Linked DNA regions of Homo sapiens: all the other regions are linked to region 1. The links are contacts of gene promoters, found by promoter capture Hi-C in blood cells and fetal thymus (Javierre and others, 2016). All regions are on one chromosome and are shown on one strand. The core of a region is centred on a gene start or on the middle of the fragment in contact, and the rest is flanking DNA. Distances in the headings are between cores, read along the strand shown.

Region 1 (2,700 bases), core at 177-2,676:
GCCTCAACCTCCCAGGCTCAGGTGATCCTCCCATCTCAACCTCCTGAGTAGCTGGGACTACAGGCATGCACCACCATGCCCAGCTCTATGGATGCTTTTTCTTGACTCTCTTTAAGTATATTAGGTAGTACTCTTTGTATCCTGAATTATCTCTGTTTCCTCCAATGTCAAATTTTGTTTGTTAATTTTGGTCTTTCTTTCTTTTTTTTTTTTTTTGAGATAGGGTCTTGCTGTGTTGCCCAGGCTGGAGTGTGGTGGCGTGATCTCAGCTCTCTGCAACCTCTGTCTCCTGGGTTCAAGCAATTCTCTGCCTCAGCTTCCCGAGTAGCTGGGAACTACAGGCGCCTGCCACCACGTCCGGCTAATTTTTTTGTATTTTTATTAGAGACAGGGTTTCACCATCTTGGCCAGGCAGGTCTCGATCTCCTGACCTCGTGATCCACCCGCCTCAGCCTCCCAAAGTGCTGCGATTACAGGCGTGAACCATCGCGCCCAGCCAATTTTGGTCCTTCCTTCCTTCCTTCCTTCCTTCCTTCCTTCCTTCCTTCCTTCCCTCCTTCCCTCCCTCCCTCCCTCCCTCCTTTCTTTCTTTCTTCCTTTCTTTCTTTCTTTTTGAGACAAGGTCTGTTGCCCAGGCTGGAGTGTAGTGGTGCAATCACAGCTCACTGCAGCCTCAAACTCCTGGGCTCAAACAATCCTCCTACCTCGGCCTCCTGAGTAGCTGGGACTACAGGCGTGGGCTAATTTTTTAAAACTTTTCTGTAGAGATGGGGTCTTGCTCTTGCCCAGGCTGATCTTGAACTCCTGGCCCCCAGCCTTGGCCTTCTGGGATTACAGGCGTAAGCCACCTGCCGGACCAATTTTGGTGTTTCTTTTGCATGCTGCTGGTCCTCCTCAGATGCTTGGCAATCATTGGTAATGATGGGCTTCAGAACGTGCTACCGGCACAGTGAGTGTTTTAAGCTGAAGGAATTTGAGAAAACCGCAGAAGCCGAAGGATCTTTCTTACCTTCTCCTGCCCTTCTTCCCTGAACCAGGTCATACAACCTGGAACTCCCTGCCCTTTTCCTGAAGAAGCAAATAACAGCCTCCTGCGAGAGGCGCCCTCCCTGCACCTGGGGGAAAGGAGGGTCCTTATCTCTGAAGACACAGGGACACAGAAGAATCTGAACCAACAGGCCTTCCTGAGTTCCCCACCTCCCCGCAGGAGGTGCCCGCACACGCATAGCCCCGTCGCTCCCGCGGCCGCACGCAACGGACCTCGCCCTGGTGGTGCACGCCCGGGCTGGGCGCTCAGAGGTCGGGTGGGCGCCCACTCCGTTCGCTGCGCGCACAGCGCCCGGCGAGAGGCTCGGAGTTTGATCACACACAGCGTCCGGCTTCCTGTCCCCAGCGCCCCCTCCCGCCCCGTTTCCCTTGCCCCTCCCTCTCCCCGGCCCGATCCGCCCGCCGGCTCCCCCTCCCCCGATCCCTCGGGTCCCGGGATGGGGGGGCGGTGAGGCAGGCACAGCCCCCCGCCCCCATGGCCGCCCGTCGGAGCCAGAGGCGGAGGGGGCGCCGGGGGGAGCCGGGCACCGCCCTGCTGGTCCCGCTCGCGCTGGGCCTGGGCCTGGCGCTGGCCTGCCTCGGCCTCCTGCTGGCCGTGGTCAGTTTGGGGAGCCGGGCATCGCTGTCCGCCCAGGTGAGGCCCCGCTGCGCACCCCTTCTTGGGCACATCAGGAGCTGAGACTGCAGAGGGGCCGCTGGGGGCCGCGTGGGCTGAAGGCAAGGGGAAGGGAGGATGGGTGGAGGGTGAGATGTCAGGTGGAGCGGCACAGGGTGACGCTCCCTCCTTCCCAGCAGGAGCCTGCCCAGGAGGAGCTGGTGGCAGAGGAGGACCAGGACCCGTCGGTGAGTGGGCGTGGGCGCGGTCTGCAGGCTGCTGGGGCATGGGAAGTGTGCACAGCCGAGGCTGCAGGTGTGTGCAGCTGTGCCAGCCGTACTCGAGGTGTGTGCAGGGTGTGTGTGAACACAGTGCGTGCATGGGTGCGTGTCTGCAGGGGTGTGTGTGCGTGGTGACAACTCTGTGTGAGGGGTTTGTGCTGGGGTTGTGCCACCTGAGTCTGAGGTGTTTATTGGCTGGGGGTGACGTGGTTGTATAAGATATGTGAGTCTGCGTGGAAGAGGGGTGCGGTTGTGTACAGGGTGTGTATCCTCTGTGCGTGGTGACTGGGTGCGGGCATGTGTGCAATGTGCCAATTGAATGCAGGGTCTGCGTTGGTTGTGTGTGTGGGTGGGAAAGTGTAGCTGGTCTAGAGGAAAGGGTGAGGACTGGGGCCTGACTCCCAGCTTCACCTTTGCCCGGGGCCCCAGCTGTAGTTGGCTGAGGGGCTTAATCTGTCCCTGACTTCTGTGTCTATTGCTGGCTGGTGGCTCTCCTGACAGGCCCCGTATGTCTCACTTTATATCTCTGGGAGTCTGTGGTTGAACCCTGCCCTAATTCCCCTAGGAACTGAATCCCCAGACAGAAGAAAGCCAGGATCCTGCGCCTTTCCTGAACCGACTAGTTCGGCCTCGCAGAAGTGGTGAGCATCCCTCTATCCCAACCTCAGGAAGCGGGCAGAGCAAAAACCATTATCCACAGGGAGAAACTGAGGCACGGAGGGTGAAAGGAGTTCAGAGTCATGCAGCTAACCAGCCAAGACTCAAACCTAGGGATTC
Region 2 (2,731 bases), core at 68-2,567, 140 kb before region 1:
GAATCTGTGTTATTTCAAGCATTCTTTATGACTTTGATGCCCACCAGGGTAAGAACATTATAATAAGTTAACTTAAAGTGACCAGAATCCCCAGACCTAAGGCTCACTGATTAAGTCTTAGGAAATGGAGGGAGTTCAGAGGTTGAATCCCCACCCTTCGTCCTCCAAGAGGTTAGATGAACAAAGACTCCAAAGTTTATTTGCCTTTCCTTTTTAATCCTCTTCTTACTCCAACTCTTTAAAAAAAAAACTGCCCAGAAAACCCAGTAATTAAGCAAAAGGGAGCTCAAAGAGCCAAGGCAAGCCAGCCCAAGAGTAGCAGGGTCCCTCCCGCAGGGGCCAAAGTCTGGATGCTGGGGTCTCCACTCAGAGCCTGGTAGTAAAAGCTGGTGCAGAATAAGGTCGTTCCGGAAGCTAGCAATAACCCAGCCTGAAGGAGACACAGCACAGAAAACAGGATTGTTAAGAACAGGGCAGGCTGAGAGGGAGTGTGTGGGGCTTGGTCAGGGTTAGGCGCAGGGAAAGATTACCCAGAGTGGCTTTCTGCAATGGGGCACCCCTAACAGGGCCAGGCTGTGTAAGAAGTGGTGTTTGTTGGCCTTGTCAAACAGCTGTAAGAAAAACAGAAACGAAGGGATGTCGTAGGCAATACAGGTACTGAGATCCCCTGATGACACAAGGGACCAAAGTTCCTTCCCCCACCCCACCCTTGAAGTCCCAGCTTGATCCCAGGCCTTTGGCTTACAGAGCCTTTGGCCTTTGCTGCTCCAGAGATCCGCGGCTCGCCCCACCCTCTCCCCGCCCACTTCCCCCAGGGACCCCAGACTTTGTGCCTTCGTAGACCCACGAGTCAGGGAGCCCCAGCGCAGTTACTTCACCTCCTTCCCGTAGGCATCTGGGAATTGGGCGCCTGTGGAGAAAAGAAGCAAAGGTTAGCGGTCCTAGTGCCAGCCCTGACCGCCCCCAATCCGGGGGGACCCAGGTGGACATTGGCGAGAAAGGGCACCCCCCCCCCCGCCCCAGGAAGCTTCCGATTGGTGGGAACACGCTCGGGCAGTACTGGGAACCAATTGGACCCAGCTGGGGGACTTTAAAAGGTTTAGGGCTCCGCGGACTGTCTGATAAACGAGAGGCCGGGCACCTCCCATAGGTTACGCCCTTGCAGCAGACCCCAGAGGACGCCCCAAGTACAGTCCCATCTTCGTCCCCAGCCCCCTGACCGTGCGCCCCGTAGGAAGCGAAGCCTAAGGCCGCAGCTCCGGACAAGGCGCCCAAGCGGCGGAAAGCTGCAGCTGGCCCGGCCATAGCTGTAGAACAGGACGCACCGGACCAACGCCGCCCAGGCCACCCAAGAGGCCAGCCAATCCCGACCGCCCATGCAAATAAGGTTCACAGGCGCCCAATCCGGGCCGTGTTCATTTCAGCATTGCGCTCTTCACCCGCCTTTGTAAAACCGCTGCAGAGTGGCGAAGACGTCTGGCGGGCGGAGAAACCAGCACCAATTAGGAACAGAGGAGCTAAGCAGTGGGGGGGCGGGGTTGAGGGCGGGACTAGGGGGATTTGCGTCAAGGATTGGCCCACTTTCCAAGTTGATCGCCTCTTCGAACCCCCCACCCCCATGCTCCGGCCAATTTCCAAAGATCCCGGTCTTCTCTCAAAGTTCCGCCCCTTTTTCCACAGGCTCCTCCTGTTCAGCTTCAAATCAAACCCACTACCAAAAAGAGGCGGCCCGAAAGATAGCAAAGCCCCACCTATTGCCAGTAAACCCCGCCCACTGCACAAATGGCCCCTCCCCCATGTCTGAAGGCTCCGCCTTCTTTGTATGATGCCCCGCCCCCTGTAGTTAAGATATTCTCCCCCCCGCCAGCCCTCCGAGACCGCGAGAGCCCCGAGGGTGGGAGATCCGGGGGAATGTCTCCACCCTGCCCTGGCCCGCTACGTCCATCTGTCCGTCTGTCCGCTCCCGCCTCTTCCCACCATCTCCAATCCCCCCATTCTCCGGAGGGCGGGCGGGCAGGCGGGTGCGAGCGGGGGGTGCGAGCGGGGGGTGTGCGCCGCTCTCTCGGCAGGGGGCGGGGGAGGCGGCCGCGCGGTGACGCGCGGGGCTGCTGCGGCTGCTCCGCCGGCGGATCATCACTCTCGGGCTGGGATGGACGCGGGGCGGGCCGGCCCTGGCGCGCGGAGCCAGGAGTCCGGGCCTCCCGGCTGCTGAGCGTCCCTCGAAGCCTCCCCTCACCCCCGCCTTCCCTCCTAGGATCCGCGCTGACCCCCGCCCCGGGGCTCTGGACTCGGCTCCCGCCCTCCTCTGACTCCCCGGACCTCCCCCTCACGCCCGCCCTCGGGATCGACTAGATCCCTCCCCCTCCCCGAGGATTCCGGCTGGATCCCTGCCCCTGCACCGCGGATCCTGCGCTCCCGGGCCCCGGGCCCCTGGGGATTAACGTGGACTCCTCCTCCAGCACCCGATCCTTAGGATCCTCCGCCTGGACCGCCTTCTGGTCCCTCGAAGCCGGCCCACGGAACCAGCGGATCCTCAATCTAGTCCTGTCCCGTTGCCCCCTCCTTTCTCTATCGTCCCTACTGCGGGGTTCCCTGTTCTCGGGCTCCCCCTGATCCCATCCCCTAGCTCTCCTTTTCCCGGGGATCGACTGGATCCCGGCCCCGCCCCCCGGGGCTGGGGCGATCCCCCTCCCCCGCCGGGTGAGGCGCTGCGGGCGGGGGCTGGGCCTGC
Region 3 (2,700 bases), core at 61-2,560, 160 kb before region 1:
CTGCCTCCCTCACTGAATTACAATGGGGGGACAGGGAGAGTCCCACCCTGGGCCCAGCACAGACTACATACAGAGCGGAGCTCCTCTTTATTCCTGCTCCCATATTACCTATCTGACTCAGGCCACAAGCCCAGCCACCCTTTCCTCTTGTCTCCACAGGCCGGGCCTTCGGAAGCATGTTGTGTGAGGGATGTCACAGAACCAGGCGCCCTGAGGATGGAGACTGGTGACCCCATCACAGTCATCGAGGGCAGGTGACAGTCCCATACCTCCCAAGCACCCTCAGGAGGAGGATACCCTCCCAGCCTAATTCCTGATCCCTTCTCTGCTTCTCTCCAGCTCCTTGAACCCTGATCTTCTGTCTCATCTCCTCTCCCCACTGGGTCCTGAAAGCTCCAGCATGGTCCTGGCCTCCCTGCTGGAGCCACTGCTGGCCCATAGAGCCTTATTGCATTAGGGAAAAGGCTTCCCTTCCTCCAGGCAGATGCGGCTCCAAGGCACATAGCCTAGTGAGCTGACTGTGGGCCAGGGCCCAGCCCTAACTCTTGCCCTTATTCCCATCCTATTTACCAGCTCCTCTTTCCACAGCCCCGACTCCACAATCTGGAAGGGCCAGAATGGTCGCACCTTCAAAGTGGGCAGCTTCCCAGCCTCGGCAGTGACGCTGGCAGATGCGGGGGGCTTGCCAGCCACCCGTCCAGTCCACAGAGGCACCCCTGCCCGGGGAGATCAACACCCAGGAAGCATAGATGGGTGAGGACCTGAAAGGGTGAGGGCAGGGGTTGGCTGGGAGAACTGATGAGGTCCAGGAGCTTCTCTGGAAGAGAAGCCTGGGGACAGGACCAGAGTGAAGCTGCAGCCTCCACCCTGGGCCCTGGGTCTCCTGGGTTCCCCTGTGAGTTTTTTTGGGAGGGTATATTGATCTGTGGGGTGGGGAGAGTTGGTGTGGAGGATGAACTGGATCCCTCTCCGACAGAGACAGAAAGAAGGCAAATCTTTGGGATGCGCCCCCAGCACGGGGCCAGAGGAGGAACATGCCCCTGGAGAGGATGAAAGGTGGGTGTGGTGGACTCCAGAGTCTCTGAGGAGATCAAGACCAGTCCTTCAATTCCGACCCCCTGCCCTAAATCCATGCCTTTGCATCTATTATTTCCTTCCTCTGAATTCTGTCTGCTGGCATCCTAGCTATACTGTGCAATCTATTTTTTTTTTTTTTTTTTGAGACAGAGTTTCACTCTTTTTGCCCAGGCTGGAGTGCAGTAGCGTGATCTTGGCTCACCGCAACCTCCACCTCCCGGGTTCAAGCGATTCTCCTGCCTCAGCCTCCCGAGTAGCTGGGACTACAGGCATGTGCCACCACACCCGGCTAATTTTGTATTTTTAGTAGAGATGAGGTTTCACCCTGTTGCCCAGGCTGGCCTTGAACTCCCCACCTCGGGTGATCTGCCTGCCTCGGCCTCTCAAAGTGCTGGGATTACAGGCGTGAGACACTGCGTCCGGCCCTATACTGTGGAATCTTAAAAGATAGGAAGCCCTCCTGCCTTCCCTTCTGAAGAGCACCTCCACACTCTGGGCCCTGAGCTCTGAGTTCTCTGGGCCCTCCGCCTAGGCCTTGGTGTCCACTTGCCCATCTGTCTTATTGTCCCACCTGACACATGAACCACCCAGGGACAGGGCTGGCTAGCTCATCTGCAAATGCTTGCAAAACCATCCAGCTCAGCACAGATGAAGACAGAGAGTGGGGCCAGGCATGGTGGCTCAAGCCTGTAATCCCAGCACTTTGGGAGCCCAGCGTGGGTGGATGGCTTGAGTCCAGGAGTTTGAGACCAGCCTGGGCAATGTGCCGAAACCCCTTCTCTACAAAAATACAAAAATTAGCCAGTCGTAATGGCAGGCACCTATAGTCCCAGCTACTCGGGAGGCTGAGGTGGGAGGATCGCTTGAGCCCGGGAGGCGGAGGCTGCAGCCAGCCGAGTTCAAGTTGTTTCCTTCTCAACTGTGCAGGCATTTCCAGGAGTCTGGAGTCAGTTCTGTCCCTCGGTCCTCGTCCCACAGGGGGTGGTTCAAGCCCCCCTGAAATTCGACAAGCCAGAGCTGTGCCCCAGGGACCTCCAGGCCTGCCTCCACGCCCACCTTTATCCTCTAGCTCTCCTCAGCCCAGCCAGCCCTCTAGGGAGAGGCTTCCCTGGCCCAAAAGAAAACCCCCACACAATCACCCCATGGGAATGCCTGGAGCCCGTAAAGCCGCTGCCCTCTCTGGAGGCCTCTTGTCCGATCCTGAGTTGCAGAGGAAGATTATGGAGGTGAGGTCTCACTGAAATGGCCTGGTGTCCAGAAGGGGCTACAGGCAGGGGCAGGGGCCTGAGTGAGGCTTTGTCTGTCACAGGTGGAGCTGAGTGTGCATGGGGTCACCCACCAGGAGTGCCAGACAGCACTAGGAGCCACTGGGGGAGATGTGGTTTCTGCCATCCGGAACCTCAAGGTAAAGCCAGCCCCTTCTCTTGGGGTCCCTCCTCTCCTGCCCCTGCCGCCTGGCAGTCAGCTGCAACCCACCCTCCTGCTTCCACAGGTAGATCAGCTCTTCCACCTGAGTAGCCGGTCCAGAGCTGACTGCTGGCGCATCCTGGAGCATTACCAGTGGGACCTCTCAGCTGCCAGCCGCTATGTCCTGGCCAGGCCCTGAGCTCAGCTTCTGCGGGC
Region 4 (2,854 bases), core at 210-2,709, 230 kb before region 1:
TGTTCCATCTGCTTTTGCAAGGACAGGGCACCACCAGGCTGGAGGAAACCTAGGTGGGGAAGAGGGGCATGTGAGATGAGAATGAAACAGGGAGGGGAGGACCTGAGAGCTAGAGCTCCTGCATGGGATGTTATCACCTGTCTGAGTGGGCTGAAAGTGGCCATGCACAGCATAGGGCTGTGGCTGTGGCTGAGATAGGTACTGCACTGCAGGGAATGCCGAAGGAGCTGAGAAAGGAAAAGACAGAGCCATTAAAATCTTTTACTGAATGGCATTCCTCCTTTGACCTTGAGGAAGGCCAAGCCCCATCCCTCCTATTACTCACCTCTGAGCTGCTGACTAGGACTATAAGCTGGCTGTGTGGGCCCATAGTGAGGTGGGGGCTGAGCAGTCCCATAGGCACCACCAGGACTGCCTTGGAATTGTCCATGCTCTGGTGTCCCTGCAAAAGCAGCTGCTGAGCCCACGTAGTGCCGGGTCTAAGGAAGGAGAATGAGAACTCGCCTACAAACTCCTTGAAAGCTGAAACCCAGTGACTTGTGTGTATCTGTATGCCCCGTTTCCCCCTAAACTTAAGTGCTTGATATGTTTGTGACTTGAATACTGGTGGCAAGGATGCATGGATGGAAGTACTAGGGGCTAGGCATCCAATCCTACTCTCACCGTAAGCACTTGGGGTCCAAACATTTGTTTGGCTCTGTCAGCTGCCATGAGGGTGCCTGGGCGATTGTGTCCTCCAGGGCTCCCTAGAAAGGGAGAAGGGCTTCATGATGCTGAAATGGGAGGCTGTGACCTCCAAGAAGGCCGGTTCCATCTGGTGGTTTCTTTAGTCCTCACCCTGCATGCTGAGGAGATGAGTTCCTGTGTGAACAGTCAGGCTCTGCTGGTATGCAGCTGATGTTAGGGTGGTCAGGTCACTGGAGTGAAAGGAAGACAGGTCAAAGTCAAGGACAGATGCCTTCTCTTTTGCCATTAAACACTGGTTCTTTTACTACCTGATCCCAGTTCCACTTGGCCCCCATTTCAGTTTTTAGCACTCTGATCCCACCTCTGTTCCTTTCGCCTCCGTTTTTCTTCCTCATGTAAAACTTTCTTGAGCTGCAGGAAAAGCTGGTGCTTCTCTTCCTGTAGAGCCAAAAGCTTCTCCTCCAACTTCAGAATCTGGGATGGGGTGGGAAAAGAAGATGAAGGCAGGGAGAGTCAAACGAAGAAATCAAAGCTGGGAAAGTTCAAGGGACTGCTTACTTGTTCCTTGGTCTCCTCTAATGACATTCTCTCTTCCATCTCCTTTTTCTTCCTTCTCTCCTGTTCTTCCTTCATCTTCTGTTCCATCATCTTATCCACCTCTTCTTCCTCTGGAGAATCAGGCAGAATGAAGAAGAGGCAGGGTAGTGAAAACAATTCCAACGTTACAGATTGAAGACCAGCAAAACCCAGTCATCCCAACACGCCTGTATGCTCTTTGCCTCGAGGGGACAAGCTCCCCATCGCGGCAATAGGGAACGGAAAGGCTTTATCAGGTGCTCTCCAAGGTCCTTCCCATCTCAAGGGTTCTGGAGCGTGGAACAGGACGCTTAAATCCCACCACAACGGGGCTATTCCTTCCCTCCTCTGCGCTCGGCAGCGGGCGCGCTGGTTGGCCGGTGGGTTGAGGCCAGCCTTGAGGTACAGGAGCCATTCTGGGCCGTGCGTCCCCCTGCTATGGCCCCGGCTCACCCTGCCGCTTGCGCTCCCGCTCCATCATAATGTGCCGGTGCAGCGCCCTGGCCATGGCGTTGGAAAGCTTGGGGCGCTCCAGGAGTGCGGGCATGGTGCTGCCGTGGGCGCTCGGGCCGTGGGCGCCCGGCTGTCTCTGACTGCCAGACCTCAGACGGGGCCTGCGGGGAGGCGGGCGCTCAGAGGGGGCCGCGCCCGGCCCAGGCGGAAGCCCGTCCGCCCGGCCCGCTCGCCGCCCCGGTCACGTGTCCCAGGAGCCCGCCACCCGGCCGGGACCGCAGCCCCAGTCCCACCGCGCGCGGGCGGCGCCGGGGTCCCCGGCTCGCTGCTGCCGCTCCCTGCCCAGCCAGCGCGGACGACTGCCCTTCCTACCCGCCTTCTCTGCGCTTTCTCAGCGGCTCCGACGCGCCCTGGCCCCTGCGTCACATCCGGCGGCCCGGCCGAGTCCTTCCGGAGTCACGGCGGCGGCCGACCTCACAGGTGAAAGAAGGCGGAAGCGCGCTGCGACGGGTGCCCGCGGCGTACAAACCCCGTCGCCGGGAACGTGAGCGACGACGGCTGCAGACTGGCCTTGGCATCCTCAGCTCTCTTTAATTTCGCGGGCCCACCTGGTGGCACCCCAGGGGACGCGGGCTCCGGAGAGGGGCGCGCGAGAGAGAGGCCGAGGCGGAGGCTCTGAGACGGTGTTTATTGGCTCCTTAGAAATCAGAGTCAGTAACAACTGTACAGAGGCCCCCATCTTCCGTGCGCCCACCCTTCCCCACTCCCGCCCGGTGGCCCCGGAAAAAGCAGCTTCATGTGGGCACAGGGAGAGACTCCTCTGGGATTCACAGTAACCAGAAACAAAAACGGAAATAAATTAAGTGATGTGGGGTAGGGGAGTAAAAGGGAGTCATGTTCCCCAAATCAGTGCATGAAGAGGGGTACCAGGGCCTGGAGCTGGGCTCCCACGACTCCTCCCATCAGACGGAGTGCTGGGCCTCCGGACATGGAGCTGTGCCACTTGCCACCTACATCTGAGAGCCTGCCTACATGCTCCTGCGCGGCTGCCAAGCTCCAGCACCTGCGCATGCCACGAGTCACGGGAATGAGGTGGAGGCAGTCGCCACTCAGAGTCCATGGGCCCGCGGCCCGACTG

The links. The method cuts DNA at HindIII sites, captures the fragments that hold promoters and counts their contacts. A CHiCAGO score of 5 or more calls a contact.
Region 2: the fragment with the promoter of TMEM256 here is called in contact with the fragment with the promoter of TNFSF12 in region 1 in 2 of 17 cell types (endothelial precursors and total CD8 T cells); the score reaches 7.0 in endothelial precursors.
Region 3: a fragment that was not itself captured here is called in contact with the fragment with the promoter of TNFSF12 in region 1 in 17 of 17 cell types (erythroblasts, endothelial precursors, naive B cells and 14 more); the score reaches 15.9 in erythroblasts.
Region 4: a fragment that was not itself captured here is called in contact with the fragment with the promoter of TNFSF12 in region 1 in 11 of 17 cell types (naive B cells, activated CD4 T cells, non-activated CD4 T cells and 8 more); the score reaches 9.7 in naive B cells.

The regions. Positions count from the first base shown.
Region 1 is chr17:7,547,632-7,550,331 of GRCh38, forward strand. It overlaps TNFSF12 (TNF superfamily member 12), which reads left to right and starts at 1,427. Exons shown (of 7, transcript NM_003809.3): 1 at 1,427-1,681; 2 at 1,843-1,890; 3 at 2,489-2,564. The coding sequence starts at 1,523. It overlaps TNFSF12-TNFSF13 (TNFSF12-TNFSF13 readthrough), which reads left to right and starts at 1,427. Exons shown (of 11, transcript NM_172089.4): 1 at 1,427-1,681; 2 at 1,843-1,890; 3 at 2,489-2,564. The coding sequence starts at 1,523. RefSeq lists silencers at 1,322-1,511, 1,542-1,621. The HindIII fragment of the contact is 9,939 bases long and covers 1-2,700 here.
Region 2 is chr17:7,402,780-7,405,510 of GRCh38, forward strand. TMEM256 (transmembrane protein 256) reads right to left here and starts at 1,318. Exons shown (of 4, transcript NM_152766.5): 1 at 1,221-1,318; 2 at 879-910; 3 at 531-611; 4 at 196-430. The coding sequence starts at 1,305. The coding sequence ends at 287. It overlaps TMEM256-PLSCR3 (TMEM256-PLSCR3 readthrough (NMD candidate)), which reads right to left and starts at 1,352. Exons shown (of 10, transcript NR_037719.1): 1 at 1,221-1,352; 2 at 879-910. It also overlaps a transcript of NLGN2 not described here. RefSeq lists an enhancer at 1,127-1,306 and a silencer at 1,797-2,126. The HindIII fragment of the contact is 6,317 bases long and covers 1,026-2,731 here.
Region 3 is chr17:7,386,402-7,389,101 of GRCh38, forward strand. TNK1 (tyrosine kinase non receptor 1) reads left to right here. Exons shown (of 13, transcript NM_003985.6): 8 at 160-254; 9 at 589-753; 10 at 977-1,056; 11 at 2,005-2,303; 12 at 2,387-2,482; 13 at 2,570-2,700. The coding sequence ends at 2,683. Among named protein-coding and RNA genes, the nearest start is that of TNK1, 6.7 kb to the left of the region's middle. The HindIII fragment of the contact is 3,374 bases long and covers 1-2,700 here.
Region 4 is chr17:7,313,243-7,316,096 of GRCh38, forward strand. GPS2 (G protein pathway suppressor 2) reads right to left here and starts at 2,118. Exons shown (of 11, transcript NM_004489.5): 1 at 2,089-2,118; 2 at 1,717-1,877; 3 at 1,246-1,355; 4 at 1,049-1,161; 5 at 838-917; 6 at 664-746; 7 at 326-479; 8 at 138-227; 9 at 1-49. The coding sequence starts at 1,810. NEURL4 (neuralized E3 ubiquitin protein ligase 4) reads right to left here. Exons shown (of 29, transcript NM_032442.3): 29 at 2,386-2,854. RefSeq lists an enhancer at 714-783 and a silencer at 1,731-2,060. The HindIII fragment of the contact is 643 bases long and covers 1,139-1,781 here.